Linked DNA regions of Homo sapiens: region 2 is linked to region 1. Evidence: promoter capture Hi-C in human tissues and cell types (Jung and others, 2019). All regions are on one chromosome and are shown on one strand. Each heading gives the region's core, a stretch centred on a gene start or on the middle of the fragment in contact. The rest is flanking DNA. Distances are from core to core; before and after follow the strand shown. Region 1 holds the start of RDH13 (retinol dehydrogenase 13). Region 2 overlaps LENG8-AS1 (LENG8 antisense RNA 1).

What was found. The method cuts DNA at HindIII sites, captures the fragments that hold promoters and counts their contacts. A contact is called where the count stands out against the background at its distance.
Region 2: a fragment that was not itself captured here is called in contact with the fragment with the promoter of RDH13 in region 1 in 2 of the 25 tissues and cell types used here (H1 embryonic stem cells and thymus).

The regions. Positions count from the first base shown.
Region 1 is chr19:55,059,903-55,064,836 of GRCh38, forward strand. RDH13 (retinol dehydrogenase 13) reads right to left here and starts at 3,246. Exons shown (of 7, transcript NM_001145971.2): 1 at 3,066-3,246. The coding sequence starts at 3,130. RefSeq lists an enhancer at 1,589-2,556. The HindIII fragment of the contact is 12,596 bases long and covers 908-4,934 here.
Region 2 is chr19:54,439,684-54,444,847 of GRCh38, forward strand. LENG8-AS1 (LENG8 antisense RNA 1) reads right to left here. Exons shown (of 3, transcript NR_126418.1): 3 at 5,133-5,164. Among named protein-coding and RNA genes, the nearest start is that of LENG8-AS1, 6.8 kb to the right of the region's middle. The HindIII fragment of the contact is 7,065 bases long and covers 1-5,164 here.

The sequences.
Region 1 (4,934 bases), core at 1,996-4,495:
AAGTGCCTTGTTAACACAATGTTTCCAAGCAGTATACTTGGTAAAAGTCATCGCCAGTCTCTAGTCTCAATAAACCAGGGGCACGATGCACTGCAGAAAGCTGCAGGGACCTCTGCCCTTGAACACAGAGTATTGTCCAAGGTTTCTCCCCGTGGGATAGTCTGAAATATGGCCTCGTGGGATGAGAAAGACCTGACCGTCCCCCAGCCCAACACCCGTAAAGGGTCTGTGCTGAGGTGGATTGGTAAAAGAGGAAAGCCTCTTGCAGTTGAGAGAGAGGAAGGCCACTGTCTCCTGCCTGACCCTGGGAACTGAATGTCTCGGTATAAAACCTGATTGTACATTTGTTCAATTCTGAGACAGGAGAAAAGCCGCCCTATGGCGGGAGGCGAGACATGTTTACAGCAATGCTGCCTTGTTATTCTTTACTCCGCTGAGATGTTTGGGTGGAGAGAAACATCAATCTGGCCTACGTGCACGTCCAGGCATAGTACCTTCCCTTGAACTTAATTATGTCATAGATTCTTTTGCTCACATGGTTTTTGCTGACCTCATTATCACCCTGCTCTCCTACTACATTCCTTTTTGCTGAAATAATGAAGATAATAATCAGTAAAAACTGAGGGAACTCAGAGGCCGGTGCCGGTGCAGGTCCTTGGTATGCTGAGCGCCGGTCCCCTGGGCCCACTGTTGTTTCTCTATACTTTGTGTCTTATTTCTTTTCTCAGTCTCTCGTCCCACCCAACTAGAAATACCCACAGGTGTGGAGGGGCAGGCCACCCCTTCACAGGCGTGGTGGTGCACACCTGTAATCTCAGCTACTCAGGGGGCTGAGGCACGAGAATTGCTTGAACCTGGAAGGCGGAGGTTGCAGTGAGTCGAAATGGTGCCAGCCTGGGCAACAGAGCGAGACTCTGTCTCAAAAAAATTTAAATTTAAATTTAAAATGCCCGCTGCACGAGATTCCCAAGGCTGCTGTACGCATTACCACAGACTTAGTGGCTTAAAACCACATAAGTGCATCCTCCTCCAGTTCGGCAGGTCAAGAGTCCAAAACATGTCTCACTGGAATAAATCAAGGTATTGGTAGAGTCAGGTTCCTTCTGGAGGCTCTAGGGAAGAATCCACTTCCAGCTCCTACAGACCGCCACATTCCTCCACTCTTGGCCCCGCCTCCATCTTCAACCTGCATCCTCACTGGAACCTCTCCTTTATTTATTTATTTATTTACTTATTTATTTTTGAGACAGAGTCTCGCTCTGTCGCCCAGGCTGGAGTGCAGTGGCTCAATCTCAGCTCACTGTAACCTTCGCCTCACAGGTTCAAGCGATTCTCCTGCCTTAGCCTCCTGAGTGGCTGGGATTACAGGCACATGCCACCACACCTGGCTAATTTCTTTTGTATTTTTAGTAGAGACAGAGTTTTACCACGTTGGTCAGGCTGGTCTCGAACTCCTGACCTTGTGATCCGCCTGCCTTGGCCTCCCAAAGTGCTGCGATTACAGGCGTGAGCCACCACACCCAACAACCTCTCCTTCTATCTTCCATCTCCCCTCTGACTGAGCCTCCTGCTCCCTCTTATAAGGACCCTATAAGACTACAAGGCAGGACCGGCACAGTGCCTCACACCTGTAATCCCAGCACTTTGGGAGGCCAAGACAGGAGGATCACTTGAGGTCAGGAGTTCGAGACCAGCCATGGCCAACATGCTGACACCCCATCTCTACTAAAAATACAAAAATTAGCAGGGCTTGGTGGTGCACGCCTGTAGAGTCAGCTACTCGGGAGGCTGAAGTGGGAGGACCACCTGAGCCCAGGGAGGGTGAGGCTGCAGTGAGCTGTGACAGCATGACTGCACTCCAGCCTGGGTGACAGAGAGACCCTGTCTCCAAAAAAAAAAAAAGACTACATGATAATCATAAGATCCTTCACTTGGCCGGGCACGGTGGCTCACGCCTGTAACCCCAGCACTTTGGGAGGCCAAGGTGGCCAGATCCCCTTTGGTCGGGAGCTCAAGACCAGCCTGACCAACATGGAGAAACCTCGTCTCTACTAAAAATACAAAATTAGACAGGCGTGGTGGCACATGCCTGTAATCCCAGCTACTCAGGAGGCTGAGGCCGGACAATCGCTTGAACCCGGGAGGTGGAGGTTGTGGTGAGCCGAGGTCGTGCCATTGCACTCCAGCCTGGGCAACAACAGCGAAACTCTGTCTCAAAAAAAAAAAAGATGCTTCACTTAACACATCAGCGAGAACCTCTGACACGTGAGGTAATGTCGTCACACCTTCCGAGGATTAGGACGTGGACCCCTCTACGGAGTCACGACTCTGCCCACCACACCCATGTCCCACAGAGGCTAACGCTGGCAACAAGATAGTGTCCAGCAACAGGAGGCTGAGCAGGTAAACAGCACTGCACCCACAGGAGAGAAGGGCACCATGCAATACAGTGGCCACCAGCCACAGAGGCTAATTTTTAAGAAAGTTTAAATTAAGTAGGCTGGGCGAGGTGGCTCACGTCTGTAATCCCAGCACTTTGGAGGCCGAGGCAGGCGGATCACCTGAGGGCAGGTGTTTGAGACCAGCCTGGCCAACATGGCAAAACCCCGTCTCTGCGAAAAATACAAAAATTAGCCGGGCGTGGTGGCGCACGTGTGATCTCAGCTCCTGGGGACGCCAAGGTGGGAGGATCACCTGAGCCCAGGAGGTCAAGGCTGCAGTGAGCCAAGATCGCGCCACTGCACTCCAGCCTGGGCGACAGAGCCAGATTCTGCCTTTAAAAATAAACGAACAAATAAATAATACAAAACAACAAAATAAAGAGTTTAAAAGTCTGGAAGGAAAGCAACATTTACAAGGGCCCAGGCTCGCCCTTCCCTCCGAGTGACCTTGGGCCGGTGACCTGGCCGGCCAGAGCGCAGGTTTGCCCCACTCCGGGCGGGCACTGCGGGTCGGGAGCTACGGGGCCTGGACCCGGGTGCGAGGGGCGGGGGTCTCCGCCGCCTTCCCGGCCCCTGCGCTGGGGGCCCGCCTTGACCGCGCACGCGGGGCTAGAATGTACTCACTTGAGCAGCACGGCGGCGCCTGCTACCGTGCCCAGCGCCGACAGCGGCAGCAGGTAGCGGCTCATGCCGGGCCGGGGACAGGCGTCAGGCGTCAGGGGTCGGCGCGGAGCTTGCTGCACACCAGCCGCCTGGGTAGCTCCGAGGAAGAGCGCGCGACGCAGCCACAGGCGAGCGGAGGCGCAGGCGCGGCTGGGCCCGCGTCCGGAACTGGGCTGCGAGGGGCGGGGCGCGGGCGGAGGGGGCGGGGATCCTAGGGACGGGACCTATGAGCATCGGTCCTGAGCGCTGTCACAGCTGGGATTGGTGGTTTCAGGAGCCTGTGGGCGTGGCTAGTCCGGGGGCGGGGCCTATGGTTTGTTCGAATGACGTCACACTTGCCGCAGCGTATAAGGCGCTACGCAGTTCTGGAGTGAAATAGGTTCGAATCCCACCACTGTCAATTCCAGACTGTGACCCTCTGTGTGTCTTTCAACTATATCAGCCTATTCCCTCATCTGGAAATGTGTGTTTACCTTCTTCATAGACTTTTGGAGATAATTTGAGAATTTCCATGCACAGAAACAAGGATCTAGTAGCCTGTGGGTACCCAAGCTCCTGGGGTCCTGCAGGAGAAGGCGGCTGGGGGCCTGGACTCCTGGGTCTGAGGGAGGAGGGGCTGGGGGCCTGGACTCCTGGGTCCAAGGGAGGAGGGGCTGGGAGCATGGACTTCTGGGTCCGAGGGAGGAGGGCCGGGTGCCTGGACTGCTGAGTCTGAGGGAGGAGGGGCTGGGGGCCTGATTCATTCCCAAATTATCAGAATCTCATCCCCATGTCTGGCCCTGCACAGAGATATCTTCCCTGAACTCTGCCTGAACTACCTTTCTTAGATTGAGTATTGCACACACTCCTGCACTTACCTGTCCATGTTTGTCACCCCCACCAAACCGGGATGCACCTCTGGGCACCTGCTTCCCCTTGCACTGCTCACAGCGAGTGTATCTGATCACCACCTCCTACCCCTGACTGTGCCTGAGGTGCCAGGAGCAGACACCGCTGGAAACAGGGAAGAATTCAACCCAATCTAACTAGGAGTAAGTTTTCTTCCTCATCAGATGAACTGTCATCTTCTTATATGAGCCCTGCCATAATGGAGATTATACAGGCAGGAAGAGCTATTTTAAGACCTTAGTCAATGGCCGGGCACGGTGGCTCACGCCTGTAATCCCAGCACTTTGGGAGGCCGAGACAGATGGATCACGAGGTCAGGAGATTGATACCAGCCTGGCCAACATGGTGAAACCCTGTCTCTACTAAAAATACAAAAATTAGCTGGATGTGGTGGCACTCACCTGTAGTCCCAGCTACTCAGGAGGCCGAAGCAGGAGCATCACTTGAACTCGGGAGGTGGAGGTTGCAGTGAGCCGAGATTGCCCTACTGCATTCCAGCCTGGCGACAGAGTGAAATTCTGTCAAAAAAAAAAAAACCTTAGGCCTGTAGACCTTAAGCTCTCACCATCTCAAACGTATTAAACCAGTTACACAATGCCAAATGCTGTATAAGAGGCACTTGGAGGAGTCAAATTCATAGAGACAGAAAACAGAGTGGTGGCTGCAGGGGGCTGGAGATGAGATTGGGAAGTCACAGGATTTGTTTTTGTTTGTTTGTTTGTTTTGTTTTGTTTTTTGAGAGACAGTCTCACTGTGTCACCCAGGCTGGAGAGCAGTGGGCGATCTCAGCTCACTGCAACCTCTGCCTCCTAGGTTCAAGCGATTCTCCTGCCTCAGCCTCCCGAGTAGCTGGGGCTACAGGCACGTGTCACCACACCCGGCTAATTTTTGTATTTTTAGTAGAGACGGGGTTTCACCATGTTGGCCAGGTTGGTCTCAAAC
Region 2 (5,164 bases), core at 1,469-3,968, 620 kb before region 1:
CTCAGCTGCTTGATCTCCCATGCCAATGAGCCTGGGGGTGATCTCTCAACAAGAAGTTGGCCGGGCACCCTGGCTCACGCCTGTAATCCCAGCACTGTGGGAGGCTGGGGCAGGCGATCACCTGAGGTCAGGAGTTTGAGACCAGCCTGGCCAACACGGTGAAACCCCATCTCTACTAAACACAAAAATTAGCCGGGCATGGTGGCGGGCGCCTGCAATCCCAGCTACTCAGGAGGCTGAGGCAGGAGAATCACCTGAACCCGGGATGCGGAGCTTGCAGTGAGCCGAGATCGCGCCACTGCACTCCAGCCTGGGCGACAGAGCAAGACTCCGTCTCAAAAAAAAAAAAAAAAAAAAAAAAGGCATTTTACCCAAACTTTACAAAAGGAAAATCCAGTGTTATTTTTAGAATGTTACCTATGGGGGCTTCCACTGCGACCAGGATGGAGTCACAGAGACTGGACTTGACCCCCCAAAAATAGAGTAAATACAAGAAAACAACAGTGGTCAAGACTCTACCAAGAAAGTGATCCCTGAGGAACGGGAAACATCAAGGCAAGCCCTAAAATTGCCGCTGGGTCCTGTTGCAAGTTTCTAGACCACGGGACAGGGAGGGAAGACTGAGGCGGAGCTGGGAGGACTCCGTGAGCAGAGGAGACAAAGCAGGGAGTCTGAGCTTTGTTCTTGAGCTTTGTTTTGAGAATGAAGTTATGGGCCGGGTGCGATGGCTCACGCCTGTAATCCCAGCACTTTGGGAGACCGAGGTGGGTAGATCACCTGAACTCAGGTGTTCGAGACCAGCTTTGCCAACATGGTGAAACCCTGTCTCTACTAAATATATACAAATTCGCCGGGTGTAGTGGTGGGTGCCTGTAGTCCCAGCTACTCGGGAGCCTGAGGCAGGGGAATCTCTTGAACCTGGGAGGCGAAGGTTGCAGTGAGCCAAGATCGCGCCATTGCACTCCAGCCTGGGCAGCAGAGCGAGACTCCATCTCAAAAAATAAATAAATAAAAATAAAAATAAATTATCTTGGACTTCCAGCCTCCAGAACTGTGAGAAATAAGTGTTTGTTGTTTTTGAGCCACCAGTCCATGGTCCTCTGTTACTGCAGACTAGAATGCCAGGGAAAGAACCACCTGGAGGGACTGAAGCAAATAGCGCCTGAGTTCTGGGGACTCACACAGGCCTTGACAAGGCGCTGTTCCTGCCAGAAGAACCTCATAACTGAAGGAACACTGGGTAGAACACGGAGAGGGTCTTACATCAGCCGTGGGGAATAAGCAGCCCTAACCTGTTAAACACTGTTCTGGTCCTGCCTGAGGAATCTTAAAAGCAAAACCTGAAAGGATCAAGCTGCTTCCAAGTAAGGTGACTGCATTCTCAAACAAAGCTCAAGAATATTTATAGGCATACAAAAGTAACGAGTGCTCGACAAGGTAATACTGATATTGTCTAGTATCCAACAACAAAGTCACCAAATATGCAAAAAGCAGGAAAATAGGGCACATCATGAGGATAAAAATCATTCAACTGAAACGGACCCAGGAGTTAGAATTAGTAGGTAAGAACATTAGAACAACTATTATACTGTACTCCATACGTTCCAAAAGTTCTTTACAGATACGGAAGATATAAAAAAACTCAAACTGGATATCAACAGATAGAAATTACAATGTCTGAAATAAATAATGTACTGGCTGGAACAGCAGATTTTTGTTTTTTGGGGGAGAGTCTTGCTCTGTTGCCCAGGCTGTAGTGCAGTGGCATGATCTAGGCTCACTGCAACTTCCACCTCCCAGGTTCAAGCAATTCTCATGCCTCAGCCTCCCAAGTAGCTGAGACTACAGGCACCTGCCACCACATCCAGCTAATTTTTGTATTTTTAGTAGAGACGGGCTTTCACCATGTTGGCCAGGCTGGTCTCAAACTCCTGACCTCAAATGATCTGCCAGCCTCGGCCTCCCAAAGTGCTGGGATTACAGGTGCGAGCCACTGCACCCAGCCCTAGAACAGCAGATTAGACATTGCAGGAAAAAAAAAAAAATCTGGAAGACAACATTAGAAACTGTCCAAATGAAACATTTAAAAAAATGATTTTTTTTTTTTTACTTTTTAGACAGGGTCTCACTCTGTCACCTAGGCTGGAGTGCACTGGCGTGATCATGACTCACTGCAGCCTCAACCTCTCCAGCTCAAGCGATCCTCCCACTTTAGCCTCTCGAGTAGCTGGGACTACAGGCGCACACCACCATGTTTGGCTAATCTTTAAAAATTTTCTGTAGAGATGAGGTCTCACCATGTTGCCCAGGGTGGTCTCAAACTCCTGGGCTCAAGTGATCCTACTGCCTTGGCCTCCCAAAGTGCTGGGATTACAGGCATGAGCCACCATGCCCTGCCCCAGAAGGAATGAATATATTTTTTTTTAATGAAAAGAACACTGGTGAGCTGTGGGACATTTTAATATATGTGTAACTGGAGGCCCATAAGGAGAGAGAAAGAAAGGAACAGAGAGAGTGTTTAAAGAAATAATAACCCCAAATTTCCCAAATTTGATACAAACTATAAAACCAAAGATACAAGAAACTCAACACACCCCAAGCAGAAGAAACACAAAGATAAACCAAGATACATCATAATCAAATTTCTTAAGACCAGTAACAAAGAGAAAATCTTGACAACAGCCAGATGAAAAACAAAAAGATTTTATAAACAGAGGAACAAAAATTAGGATGACACCAGATTTCTCACTGGAAACAATGTGAGAAAGCAGTGTAAGAAAATTCTTAAAGTAGCAAAAGAAAAAAGTAGTCAACCTAGAATTCGATACTCACTGAAACTGTTTTTCAAAAGTGGGCCGGGCACGATGGCTCACGCCTGTAATCCCAGCACTTTGGGAGGCAGAGGCGGGCGGATCACAAGGTCAGGAGATCGAGACCATCCTGGCTAACACAGTGAAACCCCGTCTCTACTAAAAATACAAAAAATTAGCCGGGCGTGGTGGTGGACGCCTGTATTCCCAGCTACTCGGGCGGCTGAGGCAGGAGAATGGCGTGAACCCGGGAGGCGGAGCTTGCAGTGAGCCGAGATCGCGCCACTGCACTCCAGACTGGGCGACAGAGCAAGACTCCCTCTCAAAAAAAAAACCAAAAAAACAAAAGTGAAGACAAGGCCAGGCGCAGTGGCTCACACCTGTAATCCCAGCATTTTGGGAGGCTGAGGCAGGCGTATCACCTGAGGTCAGGAGTTCGAGACCAGCCTGGCCAACATGGTGAAACCCCGTCTCTACCAAAAAATACAAAAATTAGCTGGGTGTGGTGGTGGGCACAGAGCAGAGATAGAACAGTATCATAAGGCTGGGCGTGGTGGCTCACACCTGTAATCCCAGCACTTTGGGAGGCCAAGGCAGGCAGATCCCGAGGTCAGGAGTTTGAGACCAGCCTAGCCAATATAGTGAAACCCTGTCTCTACTAAAAATGCAAAAAGGAGCTGGGTGTGGTGGTGCACGCCTGTAATCCCAGCTACTTGGGAGGCTGAGGCAGTAGAACTGCTTGAACCTGGGAGGAGTAGGCTGCAGTGAGTCGAGACTGTGCCACTGCACTCCAGCCTGCATGACAGTGAGACTCCGTCTAAAAAAAAAAAAAAGGTATCATAAAAAATGCTCAAACTTCCAAACTTCTCTCCACAAATGGTGCTAGAACAACTGGACATCAACATGCCAAAAATAAATAAATCAAATCTATACACAGACCTTAGTCTCTTCACAAAAATTAACTCAAAATGGATCATAGAGCTGAATGTTAAATGCAAATCTATAAAACTCCTAGAAGATAACATAGGAGAAAACCTACATGACTGGGTTTTGTGAATTTTTTTTTTTGAGACAAGAGTCTCACTCTGTCGCCCAGGCTGGAGTGCACTGGCAGAATCTTGGCTCACTGCAACCTCTGCCTCCTGGGTTCAAGTGATTCTCATGCCTCAGCCTCCTGAGTAGCTGGAATTACAGGTGTGCGCCACCACGCCCGGCTAATTTTTGTATTTTTAGTAGAGATGGGGTTTTGCCACGTTGGCCAGGCTGGTCTCAAACTCCTGGCCTCAAGTGATCCACTCACCTCGGCTTCCCAAAATACTGGGATGACAGCTGTGAGCCACCACGCCCAGCCGTGATAATTTTTTTGATACATCAAAGGCATGATCCATGAAAGAAACTTACAAGCTTGACTTTATTAAAATAATAATAAAAAAACCCCTCTGCTAGGCCAGGCGTGGTGGCTCACGCCTGTAATCCCAGCTCTTTGGGAGGCCGAAGCGGGCGGATCATGAGGTCAGGAGATCGAGACCATCCTGGCTAACACGGTGAAGCCCCATCTCTACTAAAAATACAAAAAATTAGCCAGGTGTGGTGGCAGGTGCCTGTAGTCCCAGCTACTCAGGAGGCTGAGGCAGGAGAATGGCGTGAACCCGGGAGGCGGAGCTTGCAGTGAGCCAAGATCACGCCACTGCACTCCAGACTGGGCGACAGAGCGAGACTCCATCTCAAAAAACAAAACAAAACAAAACCCTCTGCTCTTTGAAAAACATTTTTAATATAATGAGAAAAGCTGCAGCCTGGGAGAAACTATTTGCAAGAGACCTATCTCATGAAGGACTGCTATCCAAGATTTACAAAGGGCTCTTAAAACTCAGTTAACAGGAAAACAATCTGATTAAAAAATAGGAAAAGGGGCCAGGCATGGTGGCTTACACCTGTAATCCCAGCACTTTGGGAGGCCAAGACGGGCAGGAATTTGAGACCAGCCTGGCCAATATGGTGAAACCCTGTCTGTACTAAAAATACAAAAATTAGCCAGCATGATGGCACGTGCCTGTAGTCCCAGCTACTCGGGAGGCTGAGGCAGAAGAATTGCTTGAACCCGGGAGGCGGAGGTTGGAGTGAGCCGAGATGGTGCCACTGCACTCCAACCTGGGTGACAGAGTGAGACTCGGTCTCAAAAAAAAAAAAAAAAAAAAAAAAAAAAAAAAAAAAAAAAAGGATTGTTTCTGGGTGTGTCTGTGAGGGTGTTGCCAGGGAGGCTGACACTTGAGTGAGTGGACGGGGAGAGGGAGACCCACTCTCAGTGTGGGTGGGCACCATCCAGTCAGCGCAGAAGGTGGGAGGGGCTGGCT